Regions from separate parts of the Homo sapiens genome. Here region 1 is linked to region 2. Evidence: promoter capture Hi-C in 16 types of primary human blood cells and fetal thymus (Javierre and others, 2016). All regions are on one chromosome and are shown on one strand. The core of a region is centred on a gene start or on the middle of the fragment in contact, and the rest is flanking DNA. Distances in the headings are between cores, read along the strand shown.

Region 1 (5,101 bases), core at 2,226-4,725, 260 kb before region 2:
TAGTCCCAGCTATTCGGGAGGCTGAGGCAGGAGAATGGCGTGAACCCGGGAGGCGGAGCTTACAGTGAGCTGAGATCGCACCGCTGCACTCCGGCCTGGGTGACAGAGTGAGACTCCATCTCAAAAAAAAAAAAAAATTAATAAAGACAAAAATAAAGGGAAATTTAAGTTCTCACTTAAAGCCACATGTATACTTGAGGGAGAGAAAGGACATTAAGAAGGTCTTCATGTTAGAATAACTGGTTTGGCAAATACCAGGTGAATGTATAGTACAATATTTCAAAGAAATGAAAAGGAAAATGTTCACATATCCTAAAGATCATTGAAAAATTTTAAATATGTCAGAAACATTGTCAAAAATAGTAATACACTGGGCATGGTGGCCTTGTTTCTTCTTTGATAAAGTTCTCATTTGCATTTCTTCACTGCTTGTCTCTGCCTGAAAATGGATTCCAAGCCACATCTCTTACTTGTATCAAGGGAGGAGTCTCTACAGTGTCATCACTCCTGCTTTTACAAGAATTCCAAGGCCAAGTTTGTGGATTAACTTGGAATGGGAGAGGAAAGAGGAATTCCAAGGCAGGATTACCTGGATTCTGCATGCTACTAAAGACCGCCACCCATTTCTGCCCCATACTCAGGCCATGCAAGGGAGAGGGTATAAAATCTACTACTACTACTTGCTGCCTCTACAGTTCTCTGCTTATGTCAGACAAAAGACTATAGGAGATACGTGGCTGAGGAAGCAGCAGAGAAAAAGTGTTACTTTCCTTATTACACCTACCCAACATTAATTTAAGTCTCTTAAAGAGAATGTATGGATGATCCAGACACAAAAACTGTGAAAAAAGAGATGCTGAGTAAATTACAAATGTCATTACAATTATAAACAGAAATTAATTGCTTTTGAAGCATCTTTTCAAAAAGACAAGTTAAAATATTAATACTCAGTAAGTTTTACTAATGCTTATTGTTATGGTTTGGCTCTGTGTCCCTATTCAAATCTCATGTTGAATTTTAATTCCTAATTTGGGGGAGGGACCTGCTGGGAGGTGATTGGATCACAGGGGGCAGGACTCCCCCTTGTTGTTCTCATGATAGTGAGTTCTTATGAGATCTGATGGTTTAAAAGTGTGTGGCATTTCCCCCTTCGCGCTTTCTCTCTCCTGTCACCATGTGAATATGTGCTTGCTTCTCCTTTGCTTTCCATCATGATTGTAAGTTTCCTGAGGCCTCCCAGCCATGCTTCCCGTTCAGCCTGCAGAACAGTGAGTCAATTAAACCTGTTTTCTTCATAAATTACCCAGTCTCAGGTAGTTATTTATAGCAGTGTGATAATGGGCTGATATACTTATCATCTGCTCAGTACATATAGGTTAAGTGCTTTGTTTACATTTTCTCACAGAATCCTCAGTACTGATTTGGAAGAAGACATGCACAACCTGGGAGATGAAGGACTTGTCCAGGGCCATAAAGTTTTCACGTGGCAATACTGGGATCCACATCAAGGTCTTTCTGTGCTCAATATAATATATGGCCTCCTGACTGTTATGTTAATATTATAAGCCTCCTTGAAGAAATATTGTTAATACTTTGTAAATGAGTCATAGCACTATACATGCTTGAAAGTGATACAACTGTTTTCATTTAAAAATGAATGTAATCTAACATTTTCATCACTTCAGACTATTCTATTTAATTATTTAGAATTTGTATGACTCTACCATAAAAATCACACATGCTAGCCAAAATACAGAAAGAAAAATAAATGAACTTCATAAAAGCGGTCCAAAAATTAATATCATCTTATTTTTCCTTAAATTATGTTACATTGGTTCTAATAGCCAAAAGAGTCAATTGCCCAAATACACACAGTGTAGCTAAAAACATTTTAACAGGAAGTCAAGTAGACAGAGCTCCTACTCCCTAGAAGTTGAAAATCAAAAATTCAATATGGGCACATAACAATGCAGAGATCATAACCACACACCTCACTGTACAAGAGGAAAGTGCACAGAATAATAAATATACCAGCAAGCACACAAATGACTGCTAAATTTAACATCTTCTCTGAGGTTTTCAGTGTCAGAGGCACTGTTAAAAAAGAAGATCAGGCCGGACACAGTGGCTCACACCTGCAATCCTAGAACTTTGGGAGGCTGAGGCAGATGGATTGCCTGAGCTCAGGAGTTCGAGACTAGCCTGGGCAACACGGTGAAACCCTATCTCTACTAAAATACAAAAAATTAGCCGCTCATGGCCGCGTGGGCCTGTAATCTCAGCTACTCAGGAGGCTGAGGCAGGAGAATTGCTAGAACCTGGGAAGTGGAGGTTGCAGTGAGCCGAGATTGTGCCACTGCACTCCAGCTTGGGCAACAGAGAGAGACTCCGTCTCAAAAAATAAAAAAATTAAAAAAAGAGCAACTTTTACACAGAGCAGGGAGGTTCTAGGAAGAAGAAAAAATAAGGAAAGGACCATTCCCGGTACAGAGACTGCTGGATGAAGCCTGGGAATGGCTTAGGTGAAATTGCACTGTCTGGTCAGGAGAACAAGATGAGGCGAATGCTGAGGAGAGAGGTGCAGGCAAAATGAAGGGAATCAGAATGAAGGCAAGAGATTCACTACGGACTCCAGGGATCAGATAAGGACCCCCTTATCAGGGCCTCAGCAGCCTGGCAGAGATAGAGGAGACACGCAGAAAGCTGCAGCAGATTCCAAAGGGTGAGATTACCTGGTGCTGGTGGGAGGGTGCTGGCTTCCTCCATCACGTGGTCACCAGAGTCTGAGTTGGAAGAACATGGCCATTGAGAAGGAAGTGGCCATGGTCTAGTCTGGAAGCAAGTGACTCAGAAAATAAATCCCTTTATCCACAAAGTGCCATTCCTTTGAATGAAAAGGACAAAAATCAAATCCACACTAAGACCAGTTTACCATTTAGTCCAGATTTCCAGGCAGCGACTCTAAGCACAGAAGAGGGGCAAAAGCAGAGGGATGGAAGGACAGTGTGTTTATGGAGGACAAAGGACACTTTCTGAAGAGGGTGAGGTTCAGTGGTAGAAAGTGGCATAAATATATTCACTGCTATATATTAATCTTCTATGTTCCTTGCAATATTTGATGTTCATTCTGATGAATAAAAGATATTCAAAATTCATTTTCCAAAACATCATTATTAACAAACCCCATTTCTTTATTCTGTGTCTTTATGAAAGCTCATGGGTTCAGTCTGCCCCACATTTGCACTTGTTTCCATACTATTTGGTAGTGCTGGCAAACAGTATATACTCAAAGAATAGCAAAGGTTGTTTTTTAAATGTAGGCTTTCTCTCCAGATAAATTTCAAGCTTCTTAAAAGTAAGTTTCAAGTTTATGCTACATAAAAATACTCCAGCAAAATACTAAACCTTGTCTTCCGCAAACAGGGTGGTTGGTTGAAAATTTGAAAAAGAAATATTGTGACTCTGACGATCTTTGTAGACTCCAACAATATTCAGGCAGAAAGTGAACCCATTACATTTCTTGACTGAATGGATTATTGGTTTCTGAAAGAAGTTATTTTAAAACTCCTCTAGATTTTTAAGCTCCCAGGAATTGGGTCTCTGGCGAAGCTTGTAGGGGTGTGGTGATGTTTGATACTATTCATCCCAATGATGATTTTCCTTTCCTCTCATACTTCATCATAACAGTAGTCCACCTGAGATAGCTTTTCATCTGACCGCGTGACCTGCTAATAAACACAAGCATTTTTGCCTCAATAAACTCAATTTTTAACAACTGCATCCTATTTAGAATATACAGAATTTGACTCTCAGTCTTTGTCACATGATGAATCCCTCTCTGTGACCTTCTGAGGACTCTATTAAATCTTTGTGAGCCTCACCACAATGGTTTGGTTCAGTATTCCTCTACCACTGAATACATTAAAAACAAAACAAAACACTGTCATACGTGGAGGAGTTCATAAAATCCAGCCTGAGAAATGCAGTCAGCAATCTGTCCAAGTCACGTCCTGGACTTTTTGTTTTACGGGCTTTCTCAGAATATTGGCTTACTGTTAATAGAGAAACTGTACATAAAATCCAAAAAGGAAGGGGTCAGTTAGCCTATGGGAGACCAGAATCTAGAATGCTGCCCACACCTCTGTGAAACACCAAGTTTGCTAAATCTGCTATTGTCAACTCGGATCATATGGCTGATAAAAATCACAGGGCTATAAAGTGCATACTCAGCACTTTGGAGTGACTGCTAAATAGGCCTATAAAGGCACTTTTTTGCTTTTTGCATGAACTTCAAATGCAAAGGCACCTAAAAGCAGTCATTAGTAAACATATTCTTTTGCCCTCCAGGCCATTCACAATTTTAATTTTTTTAACGATAATGAAAGAATTCGAAGTGTTGTGTAAGAATAGTTATCCTATGTGAGACTACAGAATAGAAAGCAAGCAATATTTTTCTTTCTTTTTGTTCAGAATTATCTGAACATTACTCAGCATTATTAACTATATTTTTCAAGCAAGATTATATAGTTCTAGGATTGGAACTAAAGAAAAGTTCTTAAAGGAAATTGATACTCAGAGAACTTAAAATGATCTGTTCAACGTCCCACAGCCAGTGAGAAATAGATCTGGAATCAGGATCCTGTTCTCTCACTTCTAAACCCAGCATTTATACCATGCCAAGCAGCCCAGCTTCAAATAGCAAAGGAATTATAGTGGTCCCAGATAATCTGGACTTTCAAACACCCAAACCTATACACCACCCCCTGCCTCTCCACTTGTTCTTCTTTCAAACATCTCCTACCTTTTTCAAAACACCTCATGTTCTAAGGTAACCACATAGAATCCAAGCAGTTTCAGCACATTTCATCCGTCCAGCTAAAAACGTGACATCTTACGCAACTACAGTATAAAATCACAGATATCCCAAAGGCAAAAAATATTAAAGAAATGTTGTGAACCTCCTGATATACATAAGTACCCCTCTCCAACACAGGCCCAAGGCAGAAGCAAGAGGTGAAAAACATGTGCAAGATAAAAGCCAGCAGCATGATGGATAGAGGGTGCTATGGGAGAATGGAAGAGGGGTCCTAGAGTGGGGTCG
Region 2 (5,135 bases), core at 2,029-4,528:
GCAAAAAGTAGATGAAGAGGCATAAAAAAAATCCAGGTTCGTTCCAAAAAAGTTTTACAATTATAGCAAAGCAATCATTTCATCGGTTTGTGCAACAAAATTCAAAATCTGCGGGGCGAGATAATACTTGGCCAACATCGCCAAATTTATCAATACGGGTGTAAAAACTGTAACTTTTTATTAAATGGGTGTGAAAAGAGTCGGGGAGGAGGAACAGGACCACTAAATCTGGTATTTCCAGATCTCTGCATTCAACATCTCACTCCCACGCCATTAAGTTAAATAACATTTAGCACAAAACACAGGCTAGACCACCAATTTCGGGAGGGCGTCTGAGTCTTCCCTTCTCCATTCCCTTTAGATCGGCCGTCCTGGCCTTTCTTTCCTAACGGCATCTCCTTTCTAATAAAGTCCCTCGTATCTTTTGGTGTAATTAACTCATGGTACAAATCCTTCAAAAAGAAAGGAAAGAACTGCGGTTTGCTCTACGCGCGGACATCTTTTCTTCCTAAGCCTTCCCTTTCGCTGAAAAGGTTGTCGCAGAAGGGCGGGGAGGCTTGAAATCCCGCCGTTCCCTCATTCTTTCTCTTTTCTTTCTCTCCACATAACGCCTCCCCTACACCTCCCCACCTCCAATCCACTACCGTATTTAAGTCGGCGGGGGCGCTTTAAAGGGTTTCCTGTGTCTGTTTCTGTCTCTCTGACCCGAAACGCACTTTCGGTTATAGACAGACAAGGCGCTCAACCAAGGGACAGGCAAATGGAATAAACAGCTGAGGAGAATAAACGACCTAATGGGGAAATCTCGTGCTGCCTAATTGCTATTGTGTTTTGCAGATAAATAAGCATATTATTTTGATAGCGTTCAAAACCCTGAGCTCTCTTGCCCTATGCATTCTTAACAGACTTCTATGGCGCTTACTATATACCAGGCGCTGTTTTAAATGCTTTTAAAATACCACCTTCTTTGCTTAAAAAATATTTTTAACAGATTTAAAATTCCGTGTGTGCTTTCGAACTTCCCTGCTATACTCTTCTTTATACATAGTACAGCAGTTGTCTTCAAAGACAAATTGAAAAAAAACTTTAACCAGTTGCTACTTAATTGCCAGCAAATCGTTTCCCTCTGCAATTTTTCGCAATCATAATTAAATACACTAGTATAGTGGCAAAGAACTGTTAGATTTTTTTTTTTCAGTGATGATCTCAGGTTTTGCCTCAGGCGTTTGGACGCGCCCGCTAATTGCCCGTGTGGCAAACATGAGTTGCACCTGCAGGCATTTGAATTCAGAAAAACGTGCAGCCCTCACGGAAAGTTGTGACGGTCGAGCTTGAGCCTGGCGGGCCGCGGAGCGTTCACCTGCGGCCGGGAGGTACTGGCCCAGGGCGCTCGGGGCGGGAGGTGGCAGGCGACCGGCGCGCGTCAGGCTCGTCACCCGCTGGATTGCGGGGCCGGAGCGGGGACGGGGTCTGGGTCCTGGCCCGCCCTCGTGCAGCCGATCGGAGGCCCCGAACCCCGCGCCGACCCAGCCATCCGCCCTGAGGCCGACAGGGGAGCTGGGGTTCACCGACCCCCGCGGCCCCGCCGTCGGGCGCGGACCCCATCCAGCCCCACCTGGCCCCGCCGAGTGTGTGCTTTGCCTGGGGTTAAGTTTCAGAAGCCAAGATGGAACGATTCGGGTTTCTATTCACAAGGTTATTGAAGGCATGGCGGTGGGGACCGCGCAAAAGAGATGAGAGTGTGGGGGGAAAGGGGTTTCTGTTCTAATAAGGGCTTAGCACGCTGGCCGCAGGTCCTCCGCGCCGACCGGGCTCCTTCCCGCTCTCCCCCGGGCCAAACCCCGCCAGGGTCCCGTCTTTCCCAGTCGCGTCCTTTCCTCTTCTCCCCGCCCCGCGCCGGGCTTGTGTGGACAGAGAACGGAGTGTCAAAGGGACGCCCTGGGCCGATCCCCAGGAAGCTATGAATCCCTCCGTGACGGAGGGGTCTGGGGATCGATAGACGGCCCTTTCTCAGAGGCTCTCTCCACTACTGACCAAGCGGCCCTGCCAACGTGTGGTTTCCGGCTGGACCCCAACCCAGCCGCCGCCAGTCTCCCGGCGCCCCTGGCTGGGTCTCGCTCAGTCCCTGCCCTCGCAGACGCACAGCGGGGTGGCCAGTTCAAAAGTCCTACATAACTTGGAGAGAACCAGCAGCTAGAAAACCTGTTTTAAACACACAGCTTGAGTTTTATACAACCCACGTTGTCCAAGGCACGAACTGTTGGACACGAATTCATACTTTAGAAACCAAATCTAATTTCCAAGCGCCAATCTTCACCTCCCGGACTCTAACTCTGCGGCTGCGAGTGCATACACCAGGGGGACTGGAGGAGACTGGAGGCAATTATCTGGATAATCCAAGCCCGAAAAACTCGAACTTGAAAATATACGATTATGTCCTGAAATGCCCGCGTCATTGATCTAGTCTTTCCTACCATCAGAGCTGACACAGCTCCAGTCCACGGGCTTCTCCGCGGGGTCTAGGATCCACAGTCCCTGGGGGCTGAAGACCCAATGGAAGTAACTGATGGATCGCAAATTGGAAATCGTAACGTGGCCGACAGACCTGATCAGGAAAACTCGCGTCCTTATATGAAACAGCCCCGAGGCCGCGAAAGTAGCCTCAGGAGTTGTCAGATTCAAAAGCAATTTTGATTTAAGGTTTTCAAAAGCCCCAGAGGGCAAATGTGACCACTCGGGTCAGCCAGTCAGCAGTTTGGATCCAGACAGGGGACCACCGAGTGGGGCGGCCGAGGAGCCGCGGCGCCTCCCGACGTCACACGCGCCTGCTCGCACTTAGCCACGCGCTTGGGGTTATTCTTTACACTCAGGACTGAAACTTCGCCCGCGAGACCGCGGGGCGCGGAGGAGGGCCGAAACCCAAGGTCCAGGTCCAGGGCCCGCCCCCGCGCGCCCGCGTTGGCGCCCGCGCGCTCCCTCCGCAGGGGTTAGCAAGATTGCGCTCATTCTCGCCCCGGCTGCTCCCCACCCGCTCGCTGCTCTGGGGTACCAGGTCCGCGGCCGCGTTCCCACGCCTCGGCTGGAGCCTTGCGGCGGGCATTGGCGAGCGCGGCCCCGCCCCCTGGCCCAGCCAATCGCGAGCCACGCCGACCAGCGAGGGGGAGGTGCCGGGCGGAAGGCCTGGGCCGGTGCGCGGGGGCGGGTGAGGTGGCCCCACCCGCTCGAGGGGGGGGCGTGGCCGGCGCCGGCTCTTGCGGCCGAGCAGAGTTGCGGCGTGGGAAAGAGCCGCTAGGAGCAGACCGCGCCGCCGCCGGAGCCGCGCCTGCCCAGGCCCGGGGAGGGAGGAGGCGGGCGTCAGGGTGCTGCGCCCCGCTCGGCGTCCGAGCTTCCGGCCGGGCTGTGCCCCGCGCGGTCTTCGCCGGGATGAAGCGCCCCTGCGAGGAGACGACCTCCGAGAGCGACATGGACGAGACCATCGACGTGGGGAGCGAGAACAATTACTCGGGGTGAGCGCGGGCTCCGCGGGAGCGGCCCGCAGCTCGGGAGCTTGGGGTAGCTTTGTGAATGCGTGGCTCCCTGGAAATCCCGAGGCTGGTCTCCGCAGCATCTAGGTAGAGAGGGAAAGTTTGGCCTGAGAAAGTTTGAGTGGTGGGCGCTCGCAGAGCGTGAGTTGGGATGGGGCAAGGGATGTGGATTTTCACCGTAGGGGTGGAGTAGCCAGGATGGGAGACGCCACTGAAAGGCAGAGCGCAGGAGTTGGCGAGGGAGGGTCCTGGCTGTCACAGTTGGACGCGCGAACGGCAGCGTCTGGGCGACAGGCGATGTCCCAGCCACTGAAACCGTATTTGGGGGCACTTTCAAAATAGATCAGGAGAAAATAAAAACAATTTGATTTTTGATTTTTAGAGATACCAAAATCACAACTTGATTTTTGGAGGAATTAAAGCAACCTGCGATGTCAAGGCTACGTAGGTTGAACTTTGCAGGTTGACCGTGTGTGACTTGGCTAACGCAAGAGTGAGTGACAGATGTAAGCATCGGAAAGGGCATCATTTCTTTGACTGCTTGTTCTCAAGTCTGGAAGAGATCGGCGTCGTAATCACAGAAGCCAGACCTCCACTTTCCTGTGACAGAGGGAGATTACCGAGGCATTTTAGAGCCAAGGCGGGTCAAATGATAATTGCTTCTAATTGGCATCCCCAGAAGCACCTTAATTATTTATCTGCAGCTGTCACTCAAAGAGGGAAATTCTTCCTACCTTTGGAAAACTGGTTTTCTTTCATATTGTTATTCTAATACATACAAAGCAAAGCACAAAATCTGCAAGAGCAAAGATATTTACACGAAAGCAAAGGTTTAAGTATCTGATCATTAAAGTGTTGTTGTGCCGTCTTTAAAAATGAGGTCTGAAAAACAGAAGCTATCACGTGAAAGGTGAAACCCGTAAAGAAGGGGTGAAAATGAGGGGGACAGGTAATTCAGAAATAAGATCCAGAAGTGAGAAGGTGAGGTAATAGCAACCTGGTGTGTGCAGCATTTCTAAAATGAAAGAGAACAAATAACAGGAACCTGGGGAATTTGAGAACACAAAGAAGCATAGTATCCATGAATTATGAAGAGAAACAGATACAAACTAGAAAGGATTGTAAAAATTATGTGACCAAATAATACTTTGATTGAACCTTCAATATAAAAATATATTTTCATTAGTAAATCCAAGGTGCATTGCAGCTTCTGGAGATTTAAGCTTAGCCTAAAGTCTGAGACACACCTACAGTTTCATTTTCAAAGTAAAACATTCACCTAGTAATAAAATGAGTTTTAATTTTCCTATCAGTGGCATATTTAGGGCATATTTTTGGAAGATTAGTATGCAAAACATCAAGTTTGTCAATTTTTTCCTGTTGCAATATATGACTAACTGAAGTTTTGAAACAGTAAGATAACTTCTATTTATTTTAAAGTTTGCACCTAGAGACAAGAGTTTGACGTATGACGACTGCACATCTGTTTGATAGTGGTGCTTAACATAACCCTGATTTGAAAAAGTGGCATTATTTTGTTCAGTGTGCCTGACAGGAGGGAGAAGGAAAGCTATTTGAGATTAGTTGACTTTAAAATATATGAGTGGAACT

The links. The method cuts DNA at HindIII sites, captures the fragments that hold promoters and counts their contacts. A CHiCAGO score of 5 or more calls a contact.
Region 1: a contact is called between a fragment that was not itself captured here and the fragment with the promoter of HEY2 in region 2, in 2 of 17 cell types (erythroblasts and megakaryocytes). The highest score is 6.0, in erythroblasts.

What each region holds. Positions count from the first base shown.
Region 1 is chr6:125,488,192-125,493,292 of GRCh38, forward strand. No RefSeq gene overlaps it. Among named protein-coding and RNA genes, the nearest start is that of LINC02523, 180 kb to the right of the region's middle. The HindIII fragment of the contact is 264 bases long and covers 3,344-3,607 here.
Region 2 is chr6:125,746,354-125,751,488 of GRCh38, forward strand. It overlaps HEY2 (hes related family bHLH transcription factor with YRPW motif 2), which reads left to right and starts at 3,279. Exons shown (of 5, transcript NM_012259.3): 1 at 3,279-3,506. The coding sequence starts at 3,424. It overlaps HEY2-AS1 (HEY2 antisense RNA 1), which reads right to left and starts at 3,072. Exons shown (of 5, transcript NR_183491.1): 1 at 2,606-3,072. RefSeq lists silencers at 1,434-1,613, 2,788-3,497. The HindIII fragment of the contact is 5,509 bases long and covers 1-4,745 here.